Linked DNA regions of Homo sapiens: region 2 is linked to region 1. Evidence: promoter capture Hi-C in 16 types of primary human blood cells and fetal thymus (Javierre and others, 2016). All regions are on one chromosome and are shown on one strand. Each heading gives the region's core, a stretch centred on a gene start or on the middle of the fragment in contact. The rest is flanking DNA. Distances are from core to core; before and after follow the strand shown. Region 1 holds the start of MC3R (melanocortin 3 receptor). Region 2 has its middle 440 kb from the start of LINC01440.

What was found. Contacts are between HindIII fragments. The CHiCAGO score rates a contact against its expected background, and 5 or more counts as called.
Region 2: a fragment that was not itself captured here is called in contact with the fragment with the promoter of MC3R in region 1 in 1 of 17 cell types (endothelial precursors); the score reaches 5.6 in endothelial precursors.

What each region holds. Positions count from the first base shown.
Region 1 is chr20:56,245,144-56,250,819 of GRCh38, reverse strand. MC3R (melanocortin 3 receptor) reads right to left here and starts at 2,088. Exons shown (of 1, transcript NM_019888.3): 1 at 1,005-2,088. The coding sequence starts at 1,976. The coding sequence ends at 1,005. RefSeq lists a silencer at 2,618-2,687. The HindIII fragment of the contact is 15,724 bases long and covers 1-5,676 here.
Region 2 is chr20:54,975,564-54,981,239 of GRCh38, reverse strand. No RefSeq gene overlaps it. Among named protein-coding and RNA genes, the nearest start is that of LINC01440, 440 kb to the left of the region's middle. The HindIII fragment of the contact is 806 bases long and covers 1,968-2,773 here.

The DNA of each region.
Region 1 (5,676 bases), core at 839-3,338:
GCTCCCAAGAAAGTCACACAGTGGTTCTACGGTTTCTCAAACTATCTTAAGCTACAGTAAAGCAATTTCTTGTGATACACACACACACACACACACACACACACACACACACACACGTATATACATGTACCCCAACCCATGATTTCCTTTCTTGTTTTAAAGGCTAAAAGTAAATGATAGAAAAAAAGAAGTTATTTTAAAAAGATTAATCTATACCTTAAAATAGCAAGGTATCAAAATACACGTACACAAGTATATTCTGATTGTCCAAAGCACTTTCTCTCTTTCGTTAGAGTTTTGAAGGTTGTCTTAGATTTAATCCATAAAAACAAAACAACAACACACACCAACACAACAACAGAAAAATAGAAGTGGGTTACATCCTCATGCTACCTTTGGGGGTGGGGACAACTGAAGGGATATGGGGGTAAGAAAAGGGGAAAACGGCATAGCATTGCTCCTTTCACAAAGAGACAATTGTCTAACTGTAAATAGAATAATAGAGTAGAACTCAGTCTCCTACGGAGTTATAAGTGCAAAGCTATCTCTCCGTGTAGCTGGCAGCAGGAGGTCGTAGCTGTAACAGGTTTGCTTGCAAGAGATCTGAACCACCCTTATTGTTCATGAGAATCCTTCAGTCTGGTCTGGCCTGGAGCATGAAGACGTGGGTGTGGAGCAGATGAGCAGACAGGCGTCGCACACCCTGGGTGTTTGGAAATGAGTGCAGAGAGCATGCAGAGAAGCCTTCGCTGATTTCTCCCAGTGACTATTTGGGAAATCAGAGTTTGTGACTTACCCATCTTGGAATCCTTTCAGAGAATCTGTTGTTCACCAATTTTCCCCTTTAAAAGGCTTTGTAAACTTAAAAACAAACGACAAGTACAATCATGGCTGTTAACACATTTTTATATTTTCTAAGTATATATATTTTTCTTTCTAAACACCTCACGTGGATGGAAAGTCAAAAGTGACCCGACTGATGATCATTTCCATGGCCCTGCATCCTATCCCAAGTTCATGCCGTTGCAGCCACAGAGAATCTCCCTAAAGGTGTTGCGCAATTCCAGGCTCCGGAAAGCGTAGATGAGTGGGTCGATGACGGAGTTGCACATGATGAGGACCAGGTAGGTGTTGAAGTGGGCAGTGTAGCAGATGCAGTAGGGGTTGGTGGGGCAGGTGATGATGAGGACCAGGTGGAGGAAGAAGGGGGCCCAGCAGAAGATGAACACGCCCAGGAGAATGGTGATGGTGACTGCCCCCTTCATGCATGAGTGTTGCTGTGGGGCCACCCCGTCGGCAGGTGGCAGTGCTGCTATGCGCTTGACGTGCAGCCGCGCAAAGAGGAACATGTGCACGTAGAGGGTGCCCATGAGGAGCATCATGGCGAAGAACATGGTGATGAGGCACACAATGACCATTTTGCTCTCCGAGTAGACGATGAACACCACGCCACAGACGCCGCAGCAGACCCAGATGGCCACGATCAAGGTGAGGGCCTTCCTCACGGTCATGATGCTGTGGTAGCGGAGCGCGTAAAAGATGGTGACGTACCTGTCGACGGCGATGGCCAGGAGGTTGCAGATGGAGGCCACCAGGGAGATGCAGATCATGGAGTCGAAGATGTTGTCCATGTGCTGGATAAACTGGTCCTCGAAGGTCAGGTAGTCGCTGTGGACGATGGCGATCATGATGGTCTCCAGGGCATTGGACACACTTACCAGCATGTCGGCCACCGCCAGGCTGCAGAGAAAGAAGTACATCGGGGAGTGCAGGTTGCCGTTCCTGACCACGGCCAGGATAACCAGGATGTTTTCCAGCAGACTGACGATGCCCAGAGACAGGAAAACCTCGGGCTTGATGAAGACCTGCTCACAGAAGGCGCTGCTGCTCTGGTTGCTGAAGAAAGGGGCTTGGAGGTGCTCCGAGCCATTAGGCAGTGTTGGCTGAACAGAGGGCAGGCAGCACGAAGCATTCATTGCTGTCAGAAGGGCTGATCCGAGCTGGGGCTCCAGCAGGGTCCGTAGGAAGCTGCTGCTGCTCACAGGAAAGACAAAATCTCCCTCCAGATACGTCTTTTGGATGCTCATTCAATCTGGCCTTAGAGTTTATTCTCCTCTAGAATAAAAGGATGGGGAGGGTAGAGAGACAGATAGTGAGAGAGGGTGGAGGAAGAGACAGAGAGAGAGAGAGACATACACACAGAGAGAAAGAGCGAAGGGGGAAGAGAGAGAGAGAGGGAGAGTAGCTAGTTAGTAGCTAGCATGCAAGTTTGTAGCTTGGAGACATAGGGAGAACTTTGCTGTTCCAGGAGGAGCAGTTTTTATCTTGTTTACATAGAAAAAATACACCATAGGGTCTCTTACCAGCTGTCTTCCTTCTGTCTCCCTCTCACCCCTCTGTTTGTCTCTCCTCACTTCCCCACCTGGGAACAGAAAACCTGCCACCGGCTGCTACAGTTACAGCTCTTTTCATGGCAAGACAGGGGATGTGTTACTTGTCGCTAGAAGTGAAGGGAGAACACTCAGGTTTTTCATATTGGCCAAGGGCAAACAACTCCTACTTAATCTTCAGCGCAGCAGAATGACCACTGAGCATCGGGCACCTCTCTGACTGACAGCAGGTACCTGGCCCTGAGGATTCTGCAGGGAGATTAAGAAGCAGACTAGTGCCCTCTGCAGGCCGCACGGCTGTCTGCTTGCTGGCTTGGCTTAGCCCTTTGTGTTTGTCATGGAAACTGCCACAGGCATCCACTCATCTGTTCATTTGTTTGTTTATTTGTTAGTTCATTCATTTGTTGTTGTTGTTTAGCAAACATTTATTGAGCGCCTACTATGTGTCAGGTCTCTGCTGAGTGCAGGAAATACAGTGGTGAGCAAGACAACAGCCACTATCTCAGGCTTCCCCGAACTCAGAGTCTGGGGTGGAAGAAGAGGAATCAATAAATGCTTGAATCAGGAAAGTCCAGGAAACCAGGGATGCAAAGAGGAAGAGCCCTAACCCGGACTGTCAAAGTTCCTGGAGGAAGGAGCACCTATGCTTTGACTTCAAGGAGGAAGAGGTCATATCCAGTTTGGGGTGGGTGGTGGGGTGGGGGCTGGAGCTGGAGGAGGTAGAAGAGGACTCCAGGCAGAGGGAATCACACGTCTGCAGCCTGGAGGCAGAGAGCACCCTGGCCATAGAAGTCATCACAGATTGTGGATGTGGAGATCCCATTTGACCCGCGGAGTCAGAATCACCCAGGTGTAAGACCTGAACAAGTGTGTTTGCAATTTTTGACAGGTGAGCTGGGGCATAGTCACAGTTGAGCTCCACTGAAAAAGAATCTTGGGCTTTTGAAAGTGCTGAAAGTAGTCTGCTCTGGTCAGAGCATGGAAATAGGAGACACAATCTGAGAAATGAGGCTGCACAGTTTCTTAAAAAGTTGAGAGGTGCCTGAATCCTGAAGGACAGCCTCAGCCAGATGTGAGAATTTGGACAGTACCTTGACAGCAATGGGGACTGTGGAAGAAACATAGGTAGGGCAGGAATGAGATGGGGTCTGCATTTTAGAAATATTCCTGGTTGCAGGGTGGAGAATGAATTAGACAGACTGAGCATGTAGGCCAGGGAGTCCGGGGCAGAGGGTGTTGCAAAGACCCAGGGTGAGATGATGGTGGCCTGGAGCAAGGGAGTGGCCATGGGGACTTGGAAGACTTGGAGGGTGGTCAGAGAGATTCAGAAGGTTGGATAATGCAGCTTCAGAACTGATGGGTTATGGGATCATGGGAGAGGGAGCAGTCAGAAACACCTGTACTTCTTTCTTACATAATGGGGAGGATGGAGATGTTTTAAGCTGGAAAATGTGAAAGGCAGAAGTTAGCAGGTGGCCTACTAATGTAGTGTTGTTCTTGGAAGTATGGTTTAACACTTGGTCCATGTTAGATCTGATTCCCCATGTAGATCATATGAACTCAGAAAACACTGAGTCTTCTCATCCCTACACACACACACACACACACACACACACACACACACGCACATTCTAGGTGAATTAATGATCCATCTCTCCATGTAACTATGTATGTGTGTGTAGGTGTGAGAAATATTAAAAATATGCATATGGAAATAGAAGAAAACTTAGGATCCTTGGGGTGGAAAGATCTTAAGCAAGATGAGCAATCCAAAATTTAGTATGGAAAAACACCCTGAACTAAGTTAAAAGAAAAACAGAATGAAAATATTTGCTATAGGTAAAGTTACTATCTCTTACATACAAAGACTACTTTCACATTAACTAGAAAAAGATAAATTACCCCTAAGAAAATTGGGCAAAGGATATAAATAATAATTTACTGAAGAGAAGATGCAAATGGTTAATAAACATGAAAAGATGTGAAGCCATCTAGGAAGTTGGGGAAATGCCAGTCAAAATGAGATTTTAATATCGTTTTCCCAGCTAGATTGACAAGAGATAAAAAGATGCAAAATTCAGGTAAGAATATCGGGAGGACACTCTCATGCATTTCTAGTGTTTGTGAATAGTTTCACCATTTGGCAGTTCTTACTAAAATAAAAAAAAAGCCTGTTGGTATGAGTTTCTGTCTATGAACTGAGGGGCATGAGAAATACTTTTGTTTATTTGCTTTTTTTAAAAAAATATTTTGTCAAGAGCATGAGTTTAAGTTGCCCTGAATATACATTTCCACTTCTGTTTATTTTCAACAGAACGACTTAATTTCTGATGCCAAGCCACCATTCTTCTAGGTTGGAAAAAAACACATTCTTAATCCTTTTGGGAACTTCTCTTACCCTCAGGGTCACATCCAGTCTGTGGTTTCAAGGGCATGAGTCATACATGTAAAGCTAGACTATAAGGCAGGGACCATTCATTATCTACTAGGTCTTTTCCTGCTCTGTGCTTGGCACGTGCTGAGCACTGACCACCTTTTCCTGCTTTCATTCTCTGGTCGTGTGCATCCTTCAAAGAGAGCAGCTGGGACCTAGTACTTAAAATCTGTGTCCTCAGAGGTATCATCATCACTCATGAGTGTTTATTTGGTCTTCTCCAAACACTACTTCCCACTTTCCTGGGGGAGTTGCACAGATGCAGCATTACGTTTTAACTGAATCTTGCATGAATGAATTGGCTTTATTAATAACAATTGTAGGACATGACAGTCTCTGTCAGTGTTTACCGTATGTTGTTGGCATATGTGGGGGTGTCTGTTTTGAATCAGTTATAATAAATGTAACAAGGAGATTCTTATTCTAGGAGATAATGAACCCAGGTGGTCTCTTTGCCTGAAAAGCTCTTCCTCAATTTTGTGACTGGTATACCCTCCTTATTCTTCAAGATCCAGCTTAAATGTCAACTATTTTTTACAGCTTTTCTTAAATTTCATACACTAATTTACCACCCTTTCTCCTTGCTGACAAGCTGACAGGGTTCAGTACTCCTTCCCCACTCTCAAAAGCACAAGCAACAAGAGAAAAAAAAAGTGGGCCAGGCATGGTGGCTCATGCCTGTAATCCTAGCACTTTGGGAGGCTGAGGCAGGTGGATCACCTGAGGTCAGGAGTTTAAGACCAGCCTGGCCAACATGGCAAAACCCTGTCTCCTCTACTAATAATACAAAAATTAGCCAGGTGTGGTGGTGCACGCCTATAATCCCAGCTACTCGAGTGGCTGAGACAAGAG
Region 2 (5,676 bases), core at 1,121-3,620, 1.3 Mb after region 1:
GAGACTAGGTTTTGCCATGCTGTCCAGGCTGGTCTCAAACTCCTGGACTAAAGTGATCCTCCTGCCTCAAACTCCCGAAGTGCTGAGATTATAGGCATAAGCCACTGCACCCAGCCCAAGCTAAACATTTTTGCAATAAAATCCAGTCTTCCTATTTGTTAATGTTGACAACTAATTCATTTTTCAATGCGGCACAAGCCAAACAAACAAAACAAAAAACAAACCACATCTTCCAGAGTATTTACAACTGCTCGCCTAGGGTTATGATTCTGAACATGCATCTTTGTGCTGAGCTGAATGAAAATGTTGCTTTCAAAAAGGATGCAAAGGTAAAAAGAACCAATGGACTCTAACAGTGCTACTTTTCCCACCTCACTTCTACTTCGTATATGCTTCTCACTATCTGCTATAACTGAAAATGCAAGTAAGGGAGCTTGTTAAACAGTGGCTTTATTTTTACCAAAACCTTAATTCAGTATACTTTGGGTTGTAGCCAAAGGCTAGCTTCAGAATTCTCATGTGAAGGAAAGTTCACGGCCTTACTAACAGCTGTTTTCTTCCCCAACCTGAGAGGCTTTTTTTTTTTACCTACTCTTGGGTATTCATCTCTACTCTGAATTTTCTCCATTATCATCACCTTGTTACCCAAATCAAGGCCACCTTTTCCTCTGTTCTAGCCTTCTCTATCTCCATCTAGTGGCCAGAGATATCTTTTTCAACAGCCATAGTTCTTGATTGTATACAAGATAGTAACTTATGCAGAAAAATTAGTTAGAGGAATGTTGAGCACTTGCCAGATGGACAGAAAGGCTGGGGAGCCAGGGTGGAGAAATAAAGCCTCAAAGGCAGACAAGCCACAGGACCTATTGCCAAGGAAGACAAGGCACAGGACCCATTGCCAAGGAAGACAAGCCACAGGACCCATTGCCATGGCCCAGGAAGAGCCATTTAATTAGGACTGTGCAGTGGGAGGAAATTTTCTCCTCTGCTGTGCTCCCTTACTCTCCTCCAGGTTCAAAGCTCTGGAAAGGGGCATAGGACTGACTAAGCCCTGATCTTGTGCCATGCTTCTCTCACTGTAAGTGCCTGAGAGAGAAGAACTCCACTAGGAGAAGGAGACAGGGGGTGAGCAGTGATTCCCAGGACTCATACAGTGGATAATCCTCCCAAACACAGGAAGAAGGTGAGCTGCTAGGTAGCCAAAATATGACGAACACCTTATTCAATCATTATTCTACAGCGACTTCCCATGTCTAAGAATAAATCTAAACTCCTAAACAAAGCCCTGCAAAAACTGGCCTCTTCCTAACTAACTTATCCTCTTATCCTTGATCTATGGTTCCCAACTATAGTGGCCGCAAGGTTCTTAGGAATATGCCTGCTTCTTCCTGCCTCAGCTCCTTTATGCACACGGTTCCCTCTGTCTAAAATTATCTTATCACTTTTGCCCACCATTCTCATGCCTGGATCTACATTACCGAGGACTCAGCTTCAGTATCACCACTTTATGAAGGTTCTTCCAAGCCACGCTATTATAAAGTGCTTAGGATTGCCACAATGCTCCCTTGCAGCTTCATGGGTTTTCTTCACATGTTTTACATCAGTCTGGAAATATCTTTGTGTTTGCTTACTTGTATGCTGCCTCTATTCCTAGAAGTCTGCAAACTCAGTGAGATAAAAGTGGACCTTTCCAGGCTTCTGTTCTTTTTTCTATGGCACCTAGTATATTACTAGGTACAGAAAAGATGCATAGTAATTATTTCTTGACCACATAAAGGAATGAAGTTTTTCAGGTTTGCTAAAAAAAAAAAAAAGTAGGGCATTTAAGTAGCCCAGGATTTCAAACTGTGTTCTACAGAGTTGCTCCATGGATTGCACAGAAGGGGAAGAAGGTGGGGAAAGCTTCCTAGACCCCACTTCCACTTACATACAGTGTTTCTACTTATATGGCTTTTATAATTTAAGCTTCTCTGGAAGATTTCTCTTAAAGAATTTGCATCTAAGTGAGGTCTGACAATGAAGATTTAACTAGAAAAAAAATTACTCAAAGAAGTTAATACTTTGATGTCTGATATATATTCTAGGTGGTGATGAATAGCATTTATAGATCATAATTCTTACAATTGACTGATATCTTTAATAAACCTTTTCTAGAAAAGCATTATTGCTGGAAAATCTCTATGAATGTTGACCTACATGTGAATCTGTTTAAAATGTTTCTGCATATGTTTGCCTTTAACCTCCTTATGGTTTATGTGACTGCCTGATGAAGTTTTGTGACCACTAAAAAAAAAAAAAAAAAAAAAAAAAAACAATTAAAATTCAAATCTATCTCAGTGCTTTCCAGGTAGAAGACAGGCTTCATGGGAACAGAGACCATGTTTATTTGGTTCACTTCTCTATCTACTATCTTTGGAATGTGAGTGCCACATTGAATGTGGCTCATAAATACTGGATGAAGAAGAGCTTGAAATAGGTGAAGAGGGTGCTTATAGGTAAGAGTGACAGTAGAGGCCTGGCACAAAGTCTCAGAAATCAAGTGATCTCTGAGTAAATATACTAAGTATAACAGTAACCAACTTTTACACTGTTGGAGAAAGGGTGTACACACATGAAAAGGGAGAAAAGTTAATTAAACTTTATAAATATATATACATACCCAAGCTGTGTTCTCTGAGAAAGCCAGTATATTGATAACTCAAAACCAATCAGCACAATTAGAGTCCAGTTCTTGGTTTCTAAATACCATTCTCTACCAAAAGAAATCAAAGCTTCTTAGAATAAAGCCTGATACCAGGGCTGGGGCAGAACTAGGTAAGTACAGAGTGTTTTCAGCCAGAAAATAAGAACGTTCTCAGAGAATCATAGCTGTGACAAATGAAACTGATGTCAACTTGAAAGGGCTTCCAGGATGTCAAATAAATTTAAACATCAAAATGGATAATGATAATGAATTTTATCAATTGAACAAAATACGAACTCATGAGATTTTGCCAATAAAAATTAATGAGAAAGAACAAATCTTCCTATAGTAGAATGTCAATAGATATAGACAGAATGATGGAATTAGACAATCATCATTTAGCAATCATCATAGTAATAGTTTATCCAAGGGATATCAATGGATATAGAACTAATGAGTAAGAATTTCATGAAGAATTGGATTTTTTTTTTTTTTAAATTGGAGACAGGTTCTCACGGTGTCATCCAGGCTGGAGTGCTATGGTGTGAACATAGCTCACTGCAACCTCAAACTCCTGAGCTCAAATGATCCACCTGCCTCAGCTTCCTGAGTAGCTTAGACTACAGGCATACACTACCACACCCAGCTATTTCTTTTACGTTTTGTAGAGACAGGGTCTTGCTATAATACCCAGGCTGGTCTTGAACTCCTTACCTCAAGTAATTATCCCACCATAGCCTCCCAAAGTGCTGGGAGTACAGGTGTAAGCCACTGTACCTGGCCGAGGAATTAGATATTTACGTATTCTCAAGTTACCTTCCCATGACATTCATACTAATTTCAAAAGGAAAAGAGCAACTTCCATTGGAGAAACTGGGAGGTGATCAAAGTGAATTTCAACACGAATGGGAAAAGTCAGGATCGAATGCCACCTGATGGAGTGTGTGACACACATGCGGCCATCACAACTGGGACCTTCTTGCCCCAAATGAATAACCTGGTCCAATTATGAGGAAATATCAGACAAACTTAAATTGGGAGACATCCTAAAACATAGATCATCTGTAGATTTCCAAACTGTTCCATCAGTGTCATGAAAGTCAAGGAAAGACTGAGGAACTGTCCCAGTTGGAAGGAGACTAAAGACACATGACAGTTCAATGCAATGTGTGATCCTGGATTGGATTTTTTGTCATAAATAACATTATTGGAACAACTGAAGAAATTTGAATGGGGTGTATGAATTAGATGGTAGTAATATGTCAATGTTAATGACCTGAGTTTGATGGCTGTATTGCAGTTATGTAGAATAATGTCCTCGCTTGTGGAAACACACACTAAAATATTGGTTGGTGATAGGATAGCATGTGAGCAACTTGCTCTCAAATGATTTAGGGGAAAAAGTTTCTTGTATTAAGTTTTTTTCTAAGTTTAAAACTATTTCTAAATAAAAAGAAGATATACCAGGGCTGCTCTACATTCTCTGAACATAGTAGCCAGTATATTGGTTCACAAAATTCAAGACAAAGTAAAACAATATAGGATTGTTTTCATACAAGGACGTAAGAGGCTCCTTAATTGACCAACTATTGTTCCTTATACCTTAAAAATCTACCTCTCATATAGAAAATATGTACAGACCATCTCCTCTGCGGTACTCACTGTTCCAAAGATGGGAGATAACAGAGTGAACAAAATGAGCCCAGTTCCTGCTTGCATGAAGTTTGTCTTTTTGCTAGAAAGTTAAACATTGGGCAGGGCGCGGTGGCTCACGCCTGTAATCCCAGCACTTTGGGAGGCCGAGGTGGGTGGATCACGAGGTCAGGAGATCAAGACCACGGTGAAACTCCGTCTCTACTAAAAATACAAAAAATTAGCTGGGCGCAGTGCCAGGCGCCTGTAGTCCCAGCTACAGCTACTCGGGAGGCTGAGGCAGGAGAATGGCGTGAACCCGGAAGGCGGAGCTTGCAGTGAGCGGAGATCGCGCCACTGCACTCCAGCCTGGGTTACAAGGCGAGACTCCGTCTCAAAATAAATAATAAATAAATAAATAAAAATAAAGTTAAACATTGAACACATTTTTATCAGGGAGTGGGTAGAGTCACACGTGCGTGTGTCTGTGCGCACGCACGCACCTGTTCCTGAGTACTATGACAGTCTATTGAAGAACTCACACATAATTTTAAATGAAAAATGAATAAGAAAAAAGAGGTATGCTTTCCCTTTTTCTCTCTCTAACCACCCCCACTTTCTTACTTCACCAACCTTTATGTGCTGTTAATATGATTTAAATAATTCAACAACAGAATTTTTAAAAAGGAAAAAAATGAGCCAAGTACAGTGGCTCACACCTGTAATCCCAACACTTTGAGAGGCTGAGGCTGGAGAATTGCTTGAGCCAAGACGTTCAAGGTTTCAAGGAGCTACGATTGCACCACTGCACTACAGACTGAGAAATAGAATGAGACCTTATCCTCAAAAGTAAATAAATAGAAAGAAAAGTGTCTGGTAAATTCTTAATTTTTTAAAATGTGGATAGACCTTTGACCATTTTAGTTGAGCTTGGAGAAATTCATTCTGTAGAGAAGGCATCATCCCCAAAATATTGACTCTGAGACCACTTTCCAGGATGCTTAGGGGTAAAAAAGCATTTGATCAAGGAAAACATATTTAATTAGTTTTCTTTTCGGTTAAGGAGAGAATATAAAGCAAAGGGAATTGAGACCTAATGCCCTCTTACTATTTTTGTTGGAAATAAGGCACTGTGGGAAAGGTAACATTACAGACTGGAAATTCCTTTGAGAAATGAGATGACAGCTTCATAAGAATGACAAGTAACAAAGGGAGCTGCATAATCTTGTGGTCTGTTCTGAGCTCCATGCACAGGATAATGCAGCTCCTGATACTGATTGCACATCTTATGATATATATCTATTCAAGGTTGTTCCAGCATTTTTGTTTCATTTTGTTTTAAAGCTAGAATAAGATGATAT